Linked DNA regions of Homo sapiens: regions 1 and 2 are each linked to region 3. The links are contacts of gene promoters, found by promoter capture Hi-C in human tissues and cell types (Jung and others, 2019). All regions are on one chromosome and are shown on one strand. Each heading gives the region's core, a stretch centred on a gene start or on the middle of the fragment in contact. The rest is flanking DNA. Distances are from core to core; before and after follow the strand shown. Region 1 has its middle 46 kb from the start of TEX36-AS1. Region 2 overlaps LOC105378543 (a long non-coding RNA gene). Region 3 holds the start of CTBP2 (C-terminal binding protein 2).

Region 1 (3,576 bases), core at 701-3,200, 460 kb after region 3:
CGTCTCTACTAAAAAAAAAAAAAAAAAAAAAAAAAAAAATACAAAAAATTAGCCCAGAGTGGTGTCGGGTGCCTGTAGTCTCAGCTACTTGGGAGGCTGAGGCAGGAGAATGGCATGAACCCGGGAGGTGGAGCTTGCAGTGAGCCGAGATCGCGTCACTGCACTCCAGCCTGGGTGAAAGTGCGAGACTCCATCTCAAAAAAATAAAAATAAAAAAATAAAAATAAAAATAAAGCCTTGGAGAATATCCGTTATTGGTTGAGTTGCACCAAGACAGATCGTGGAGAAAATAAACCCTAAAGCACTGTAAACCTATCACAGAAACAGAGCACTGAAGGCAAGCAATGGCGGGAAAGAACAAAATCAACAGGAGGCACCACCACCAAGTTCAGGGGAAGCAGAGGCAAGGGTGCAAATCCTTCAAAGCCGTGCAGGCACCACCTCTGCAGGGCTCCATCCCTGGTCCCTGCCCCAACACCACCACCCACATTCCCCTCTCCTCATAGTAGAGGTCTCCACCACCATGCCGTCTGCTCCTTGAGAACACGGACTATGCCTCATCATTTTGTGTCTCCAAGCACTTTTTGAAAGCTCAGATGGTGAAGTAATTTGTTTTTTGTTTGTTTGTTTGTTTTTGAGACGGAGTCTCGCTCTGTAGCCCACGCTGGAGTGCAGTGGCGCTGTCTTGGCTCGCTGCAACCTCCGCCTCCCGGGTCCAGGTTCAAGCAATTCTCCTGCCTCAGCCTCCCGAGTATCTGGGATTACAGGCGCACACCACCATGCCCAGCTAATTTTTGTACTTTTAGTAGAGACGGGGTTTCACCATATTGGCCAGGCTGGTCTTGAACTCCTTACCTCATGATCCACCTGCCTCCGCCTCCCAAAGTGCTGGGATTACAGGCGTGAGCCACCTCGCCCGACCATTTTTTACTATTTATTTATAAATATATATATATATGTGTGCATATATATATATACATCTATATATCACCTAGGTGCATGTATCATTGTAAAAATTTTTCACATCATTAAATATTCTTGTAAAATATGATTTATTAGTAGCTACATAATGTTGCATCTTGTACCTAAGCATTCTCTATTTTGCCAGGTATTTAGCTTTGCTCTTTGAGCTGTTTTAAGTAACTCTGTAACATGCATCTTTGCCCCTAAATCTTTGTCTGAGTATCTTGTCAGTCCCCTAGGATTTGTCCTACTTGGGTCAAAAGCTATGAACATTTACAGGGCTGCTGAGATATACTACTACATTCCTTCCAGAAATGTACAAGCACTGTCTGAAGTTACCCATCTCAACAAATCCTTGCGAGCACTAGGTTTTAAATTATAATAATAAAAATCTTCGCTCATTTTGTCAAGAGAAATGGAAACTCATTGTTGCTTTAATGGCCTTTTCTTTGATTACTAGTGAAGCTGAACATTTCCTCATTTGGCTACTGTCCATTTGTAATTTATCTTTTGTGAGTTTTCTGTTCATTCCTTCTTCCCTTTCTCTCTGTCTCCCTCTTTCCCTCTGACATTCAGTGAAGATGTGTTGAGCATTGATTTGTCAGACCATGGCAAACAGGGATCAGGAAGATACAGTCAAGGACTCACAACACACCCCAGGCCAGAACACTAGCTGGAGCCAGTGACAGTTGCTGCCAGAAGGCAATCACAAGTCAATTTTTTTTAATTGTGGTAAAATGCACATAAGATAAAATGTGTCAGCTTAACTATTTTTAAATATATACTTCAGTAGTGTTAAGCTTATTTACATTGCTATGCAACCCATCTCCAGAACATTTTCATCTTGCAAAATTGAAAATCTGTACCCATTAAACCGTAACTCCTCAGACCTCCCTCCCCCAGAACCTGGCAACCACCATTCCAGTTTCCATCTCTGTGAATTTGACTACTCTGGGAACCTCAATTAAGTAGAATCATATAGCATGTGTGTTTTTGTGGCTGGTTTATTTTATTTAATATAATATCCTCAAGATTTATCCATGTTGTAGCATGTGTCAGAATTTCCTTCCTTTTTTAAAGCTAAATAATATTCCATTGTATGGATAGACCACATTTTGTGTGTTCATTCATCCATCAATGGACACTTATTTCTATGTTTTGGCTGTAGTGAATTGTGTTGCTATAAAAATGGGTATACAGATACAGTATCCCCAAATACCTGCAAGTATCTTCTGGGTATATATTCAAAATATTATTTGGGGATATATACACTCTGAGTATATAGAATAGCTATCCAAAGAATATTTTGGATATATACCCAGGAGCGGAATTGCTGAGTCATGTGGTAATTCGATTTTTCGTTCTTTGAGGAGCCATCGTGTGTTAAGCAGTCACACCATTTTACATTCCCACCAGCAGAGCACAGGGGCTCCAATTTCTCCACATCCTCACCAACACTTGGCATTTTCTGTTTTTTTTTTAATAGTAGTCATCCTGACAGATGAGAGCTGATATCTCATTTTGCTTTTGATGTGCATGTCCCTAATGATTAGTGACATGTTTTCATGTGCTGGTGTGGTGTGTATCTTCCCAGTGTGTAATTTTTGATATTGCCTTTTCCACTTATATTAGTCAGGGCTCTCCAGAGAGACAGAACTAATAGGATATATGTATGTATAAAATGGAGTTTTTTAGGGAGAATTGACTCACATGATCACAAAGAGAAGTCCCACGATAGGCCATCTGCAAACTGGGAAAGAGAAAAGCCAGCAGTAGCTCAGTTCAAGTCTGAAAGCCTCAAACCCAGGGAAGCCAACAGTGTAGCCTTCCATCTGTGGCCAAAGGCCCAAGAGCCCCCCAGAAGCCACTGGTTCAAGTCCCAGAGTCCAAAGGCTGAAGAATCTGGAGTATGATGTCCAAGGACAGGAGGAGTGGGAGGAAGCACCCATCATGGAAAAAGAAGGAAGCCAGAAGACCCAGGAAGCCAGATCATCCCAACTCCCTCCACCTGCTTCGTTCTAGCCGCACTGGCAGCAGATGGGATGCTGTCACCCACATTGAGGGCGGGTCTTCCTCTCCCAGTCCACTGACTCAAATGCCAATCTCCTCTGGCAACACCCTCACAAACACACCAAGAAACAATACTCTACCACCCATGTAGCCATTCTTCAATCCAATCAAGTTGACACCTAATATTAACCATCACAAGTCTACCCATTGTCAACTGGGCACCCATACACATGTCCTGAAATCATACTTAATCTCCACATAAAGACAATAATAAGGTCGTAATTATGCCTAACATAATACAGCTATCCTTCGTACAACAAGAAGCACACTAATCCTTAACCTAAATGCTAAGACAAACAACGCTTAAATGCTGATATGAAGTCAATAAATTTTATGTTACATGATAAAGGAAAAAGAAAAGAAATAAAATGAAGATATTTCCTTAGTACAGGTGTATACATGCACAAACATATTTTTAACAAAATAAGGAGTAAATACTCATGACAATTACAGTCTTCATTTCTACAACTGGTCACGTGGTCATAGCTGTTATTGATGACTACCTTCTTCTACGCATTCTGTACTCCCTTTGCCTTCAGCAAG
Region 2 (3,330 bases), core at 399-2,898, 330 kb after region 3:
GAAGTTAAGGAAAGAAAGTCTCCAAGACCTAGCATGATGCAGACCTGCTTGCTCCTACACCAACACAGTAAGTCTGGGATGTGACTGAATCTCCCAGAACTTGTCTTAAAATATTAAAATCCCTCCTATACTTTGAGTCCTGCTTTATGGTTGTGATTCGCTATGAGATAAATAGAAATTTTTAGACTTCATTTATGTAAAAAGAAGAAAGAGAATTTATGCCTTTAAAACACAGAAAGGAACTCAAGTTTGGCTGGGTTTGGGGCTACTGGATTTTGAAAAGAAGGCAGCATTTCCTAAACACTGGTCCCTGTCATTCTTTCTTACTTGGCTCTTTCTTGCTAAACTTTTCAATGAGGACTTGGAGCTGCCGTGAATGTCCCTGGGTTAAAAGAACATATTAAATCAGTATTTGGTAAGAAGGGAGGTAAAATCCCCAAAATATAGGAGTAACTCTACCCATGGACAAGATGACAATCTAGATGCACTATACGTAATCAATGGCGTGTTTTTTGGGGGAAAGATACAAAGCTTTTTCTGGAATTCTTTGATAAAATACACACTTGAACCACAAAAAAGGAAATGTGACAAGGAAATACTTTGCATATTGAGTTGTGGCCATGGTTATGGAGGAGTGTACACCATTTCCAATTAAACAAAGAAATAGGCAGCAGAAAACACTTTAAAAAGGAAAACCACGGAGTCTCTTTCAAAGAAGAGTGGAATTTTCACTCTACCTTATTCATTAAAGTTAGAAACTGCCATCCCTTTAATGAGCAGCCTGAGGGTGGAGAAATTGTCTTGAATAGCTATATTCCAGGGAGCACTTGGCATCATCACTGAAACATAGTGTGGGATTGCAATTGTGTGGGGTTTTTTTTCCCAGTGAATAGGAAGCGATCAAAGATAACATTGCCTGAGAAAGAATTAAAATAGTGTAACATTGCATCAAGTTATAGCCAATGCCAATCATTATATGGATGAATGAACAAGATCCTTTAAATAATGGTATAGACGTGCTGTGGCATTCAAAATATAATGACCAACTTCGGGGGGGTTCAAATAAAAACGCAAAAGCATGTGCCCACTCATCTGGCCAAAACAGTGAAGTATAAGCACGTCTCTTTAAATAGATCTGCAAGCCATATCCTTCATTTACATCATCTATAAAACACTGGACTATAGGAAGTAAATTAATTCACAAAGACTGCCACAGAAATTTTATATTAGCAAGGCGAAATGCTATCTATGACGAGACTAGGAAAATTAGAGGCACAATCAGAAAAAATAAAGTAAAAGGGATTTATATAATTACAGTGTGATCACCTTTCCCTCTGTGAAAGGACAGGAAAGGAAAGCACAATGCAGGAATTGAATTCATCATTGTGTGGATGAGAGCTCCTGGCATATAATGCTAGACAGAGCTATTTACTGGAAAAAGTGTTGCTTTATTTACATGCTAAACAGCATCACCTTCTAGCTTCAGAAGACTGACAAATAACAGCATAGCAAGGAAGAGAAAGAAAAGGCAATCTTCCCTACTCCAGACAGAATTGGAACAGGATGGACACATATTGTCACCAATCCAAACATCTTGACCCCATCGCTAGAAAATGGAATCCCCAGCTTCTCCAAACATCTCCAAAGAGATCATCTTTGCTTTTTTGGTTACAAGAATGATAACAAGGAAACTCGACTCTGCATCCAATAGGAGGGATGAGAGCAGGGAAAAGAAAATCAGCACACTACTTAGTCTAGGAAATCTCCACAGCACAACTCTTTCAAAAGATGGAAAAAATAAAATTTAATCTGTGACAGAGGATACAGAAATGAGTCCAAATGCACCTCCTTGTGCCCTTAACCAAAATAATAATAATAATAATAATAATAATAATTCGATCTAATGAACAAAGAAAGACTGGCTGATGAATGAAGTGAATTGTTTTAATGCAGTAAACAGGAGGTCTGAATAAAGAGATCAAAGGAGGCCAGAGTGCAATGCACCCACAAGTGCAATTGCTCCCCAGGGAGTGACAAGAATAAAATTGCAAGATTTTGCTCCAAGTTACAGCCAGTGGTTCTAATCTAGTTGTCTATGCTAATCAAGGCACAGCCTTTGAGCTTCCTCCAAAAAGATTTCACTTTTTGATTTAGAAAATAATGCTTGAACTTGCAGTTGGTATTTATAAATTCTGACAGATACCAGGAGGGGACATGAAAGCACTGTGTGGGAAAACAAATAAAATACCCAGGATATCATTCTAGCCTTTCCTATTCTTAGTTATGAAAGCTTTGGCAAATAATTTTATCTCTGGGCAACTACTTCTAAATTTTATGCATTTACCTTGTCCTAAATATTTGTATTTAACAATAATTATAACACCAACAAATATTTTTCTTAAACACAAACAAAAAAACTAGACAGAAGATTTACATAACAACCTGTATTGACAGAATATCCATAGTTTTCATTTCTCATTAGATGTTTATTGAGTGAGATGAAGGCTTTAAGATTATCTGGGTAACATTTACTTATATTACTTAAAATTTGTTAATGAGACTATAAATAGTTGCTTGGACAGAAATGAAAAATACATGTTTGCATGACTCAGTTTGAATTTTGGTTGAGATGAATTTTGGTTGAGGGACAGGGATGGTGAAAAGCTCACAGGGAAGCACACTGGAAAGTGTGGTGATGCGAATGCCAGGTAAGGAAAGAGGGAGCTGGTTCACTGCCTAGAATCGGCCATGTTTCCTTTGCAGATTCCAGCATATTGAGGGCTCAGTTAGCAGCTCTGCAGAGGGTGGACATTCACCAAGGATGTGCCCCAGGAGGAAATAAGCCCCACCCACCCCACCTGGCAGCTGACCCGGGCTGCATGTATGCCAGCGAGCATAGGCATTACCCAGTAGCCATTATGCTATTATCTGGCTGCCATTGCCTTTTAGTAATTACCCAGCAGCCATTGCCCTGCAACCATTACCCAGCAATCATTGCCCTGCAGCCATTGCCCTGAAGCTATTACCCAGTGGCTATTACTCAGCTGCCATCCCCTGGCACCATTACCTGCTGTCATTATCCATCAGCCATTTTGTGTGGGTCTCCAGCGACCCAACGTGGAGCTGCTGCCACTGTGCCCAAGTTGCACTGTTGCAGGAGAAGCTGGCCGCAGTCTCCCTTCCTGACCCAGAAATCCTTTATGGCCATAAGGCCCAGCACAGGGGCCTGGGCCATGCTCCTGGAGGGAGCCAGGTCATTTGCAGGAGGGATCCTTGACTTGGGGAATGACAGGAGGCAAACAGGAAGTGTCCTTTCATGGTGGGTGAAGG
Region 3 (3,290 bases), core at 746-3,245:
TAAGAACTTAACCCGATCTCCAATCTTTAAAGAAAAAAGGGGGTAAATACACAGAAGGATTGTTTACCCCGGACAGGGCAAGGAAGCCCGGTATGACGACGTAGGCCATTGCCAGCAGCCTCCACCACGAGCACGCAGAGCGGGGATTTCTACGAAAAATTCCTCCTCTTCCCTATAAAATCCTAAACGTGGGGTCCTCTGCAGCCAACTGCCGCTTGGGCCGCCTCCGGAAAAAGTACCGGGCGGGGGGAGGGGGGACAACCACAAACACTCGCGCGCACACGCTCACTCCGTGTCCGCGACCGTCGTCGCCGGCGGAAAGCGAGCCACGGGAGGGAGTGTGTGCGCGCGTGTGTGTCTCGGCGCGGCCCGCGGTGACCGAGCTGAGCTCTTGGGCCCGCGGCCTCCGAGCCCCAGGGCGCGGCGTGGGCTGCAGGCGACCCGCCACGCCGCTGGGCCTCCCGCGGGAGAAAGGCCCAGGCACGCCCCGGCTCCCGCGCGCCTCTGCCCAACTCGCCCGGGGCGCTGGGGGCAGCGCGAGGGAGAGAAAGAAAGGCGCTTCCCCTCGGCCGCGCGGGGCCGTCCGGCGCCGCGGAGGGCTGGGAGGAGGAGGAACCGCGGCGGCCCGGCTGTCCCTGCGCCGCACCGGGTCCCTGCCGCCCGGGGCGCGCCCTAGCCAGCCCCTCCTGCTAAACTTTTTCTTTTTGATTCGCCCCACCCGAAAAGTGCGGCCCGGGCGGGGAAGGTGGGGGAGGCGGGCGGGCCGGGCTCCCGGCGGCGGCGGGCGAGGAGGAAGTGGTGCCCGCGGGAGCGCGGCCGGGCAGAGGAAATGCCCGGCCCGCCCGGCCCCCGCCCGCGCCCGCCGCCCGGCCCGCCCAGGCCCCCCGCCCCGCCGCGACTTTGGCGGGCCGAGCCCCGCGCGGCAGTGGCGGCGGCGGCAGCGGCAGCAGATGTGGCCCGGCTGCCCGGAGGAGCCAACAATGCGGGGCCGGCAAAACAAAAGGGTTCCACTTCGCCTCCTTTCCCGTCTTTCACTTGCGCTCCCGGGGAGCCGCGCGGGATCCCCCGCCGGCAGGGGCAGCGCCCCTGGGGACCGAGAGCCGCTCACGCCCCGACTTCCCCACGGAACCCCTCTTCTCCGCGCCCCCCCCACCCTCGCCTCGTAGGCGCAAGGCCCGCCGCACCCCGGCGCGCTCGGACTCCTGTTCCCCGGAGATCCGGCCGTATTGTCCCCGCGGCGCGTCGCGCGCTCGGCCTGGGTCGCCGGCGGCCCCCGGGCGCGCACCCACCGGGCTCAGGGAGCAGGAGCCGGGGGCGCCCAGGGAACCGTCGCCGAGACGCCGCCGCCGCCGCCGCCGCTGCCCTCCGGACGCCGCCGCGCTCGGGGTTTCTTTTTTTTTTTTTTTCAACCCTGATGGGAAGGAAGGTGACCGCCTACTTCGCATTCATCAACTCTCATCACAACAACAAAAATCCTGGCGCAAACGGCGGCCAGCGGGCGCAATCGGTGGCGGGGGCGGGCGGGGACCCCCGAGCCAGCGTCCACCCCCGGGCGCCGAGGGGGGACACGAGGCCGGGGGCACGGACCAAAGATGTCCTCGGATGCCGGCTCCGCGTCCTTCGCCCTCTTCCTCCTCCTCCTCCTCCTCCCTGAGTGGCGCAGTGAGGCGCGGGCGCGGCGCCCCCAGCCCGCGGCCGCAGGTGAGGCGGGGGCGGCGGCGGCCCCAGCCCTCCCCCGGGGCCCCCCTTACCTCGTCCCGGACGGTCGGCGTCCACGGCGAAAGGCGCCCACCCTGGAGGCGGCGGCGGCGGCGTCTCCCGCCCCTCCCACCCCACCCGGCGGCGGTGGCGGTGGCGGCGGCTGTGCGGCCCCCCCTCAGCGCGGCATGGCTCCCGGTTCGGTCCCTCGCTCCTCGGGCCGCCGCCGGCTCCTCCGGGCCGCTCCCGAGCCACCTTAAAATGACACACGCACACAGGGACACACACACAAAAACTTAATCTCTCCAGCTCCCCGCCCCTCCCCCTCCCGCCCTCCCCACCCTCCCTCCGCTCCCCTCCCCTCCCCACCCTACCCCTCCCTTCCCTTCCACCTCCTCCCCTCGCCGCCGAGCCTCTTCCTACTTCCCCACCCACCCCACCCCCTTCCTCCGCCCACCCGGTTCCCAATTCCCCCCGCGTCCCGGCCCCGCGCCCTCCCGCCCGCCGAGAGGGGGCTGCGCTGGGGGTCCCCGGCCCGGGCCCGCCCCGCGCCGCGCTCACCCCCGAGAGGATGCTAATTCCAACTTGGATCGGGGGAGGGAACGTCCTGGATGCCGAGCGCCTCCCGGCTATTTGCTCTTCTTTATTTGTTTTCTCCTCCGGGGAAGGAGAAGGAAAACGGAGAGAAAAGGAAAGGAAAGAAGCGGCGCTGGCCGCAGCTCCCGGTACCCGCTGGCTGCGCAGGAGCTAGGCGGGAGGCGAGGTGAGGGTCGCCGCTCGCTCACTCCTCGCTCCTGTTTTTGGGGGGGGGGGGCAAAGGCGGGGTCTCTTTTTGCAAACCAATGACACAACCCCACATGGGCCGGCCTCGCCCCCTTCAGATACTCCTCACTACAAATCGGCTCTCTCGGGGGATTAGTGGCTCCGCGAAAGTGCACACAAGCGCGGCGGGCGGGAGGGCCAGGGGCCGGGCGCGGCGGGCACTCCCTAGCCCGGCCCCGCCCGGGAGGCCCTCGGGAGGCGCGGGGGCCTCGGTGGCAGGGGCCGAGGTCCTGTCGCGGTGGCTCGGGGTCCGCTGCTCCCCTGGCCCTTCATCCTCCTCCGCCCCTTCCACGTGGGGTACCGGGCAGCCGGCCACGTGGGGGAACGCGAGCCCCGGGTGGCCCCGGTCCCATGGGGCCCCGCCCAGCCAGCGGCGCCAACCAGCCCCCTTCCCGGCCCCCGGGCTCCAACTTCCTCCTGGTGCCCCGCACCGGCCGCTTCTGCCTTCTCAGGCCCGCGGGGTCAGGCGCGGGCCGGCCACAGGGGGCACTTGCGCTCCCCAAATCCAGATCCGGGAGACCGTGCCGGAGAGGCGGCGACCGCTGTGGGTGCGCAGGGAAGGGCCCTCTGTGCTGCAAGTTGCAGCAGTGCTGTGCCCTAAAAGAAGCAAAACATTCTTACACATTGAAAAAAAAAAAAAAGGTTCCCTCTTGCTGCCTGGATCTCGCCGGGGCATTTGAGAAGCCCTGTGTTGGGTCGGAGCCCCGGGTCTCGAGGAGGGAGGCGCGCTGCGGCGTGGGGGCCCGCGACTCGGGGTCCTGGGCTTGCGC

What was found. The method cuts DNA at HindIII sites, captures the fragments that hold promoters and counts their contacts. A contact is called where the count stands out against the background at its distance.
Region 1: a fragment that was not itself captured here is called in contact with the fragment with the promoter of CTBP2 in region 3 in 1 of the 25 tissues and cell types used here (spleen).
Region 2: a fragment that was not itself captured here is called in contact with the fragment with the promoter of CTBP2 in region 3 in 1 of the 25 tissues and cell types used here (dorsolateral prefrontal cortex).

Annotation. Positions count from the first base shown.
Region 1 is chr10:125,618,933-125,622,508 of GRCh38, forward strand. It overlaps a transcript of TEX36 not described here. Among named protein-coding and RNA genes, the nearest start is that of TEX36-AS1, 46 kb to the left of the region's middle. The HindIII fragment of the contact is 3,522 bases long and covers 190-3,576 here.
Region 2 is chr10:125,490,773-125,494,102 of GRCh38, forward strand. It overlaps LOC105378543 (a long non-coding RNA gene), which reads right to left. Exons shown (of 3, transcript XR_007062331.1): 1 at 3,068-3,330. Among named protein-coding and RNA genes, the nearest start is that of TEX36-AS1, 82 kb to the right of the region's middle. The HindIII fragment of the contact is 3,548 bases long and covers 1-3,330 here.
Region 3 is chr10:125,158,568-125,161,857 of GRCh38, forward strand. It overlaps CTBP2 (C-terminal binding protein 2), which reads right to left and starts at 1,996. Exons shown (of 11, transcript NM_001329.4): 1 at 1,752-1,996. RefSeq lists an enhancer at 2,767-3,290. The HindIII fragment of the contact is 19,174 bases long and covers 1-3,290 here.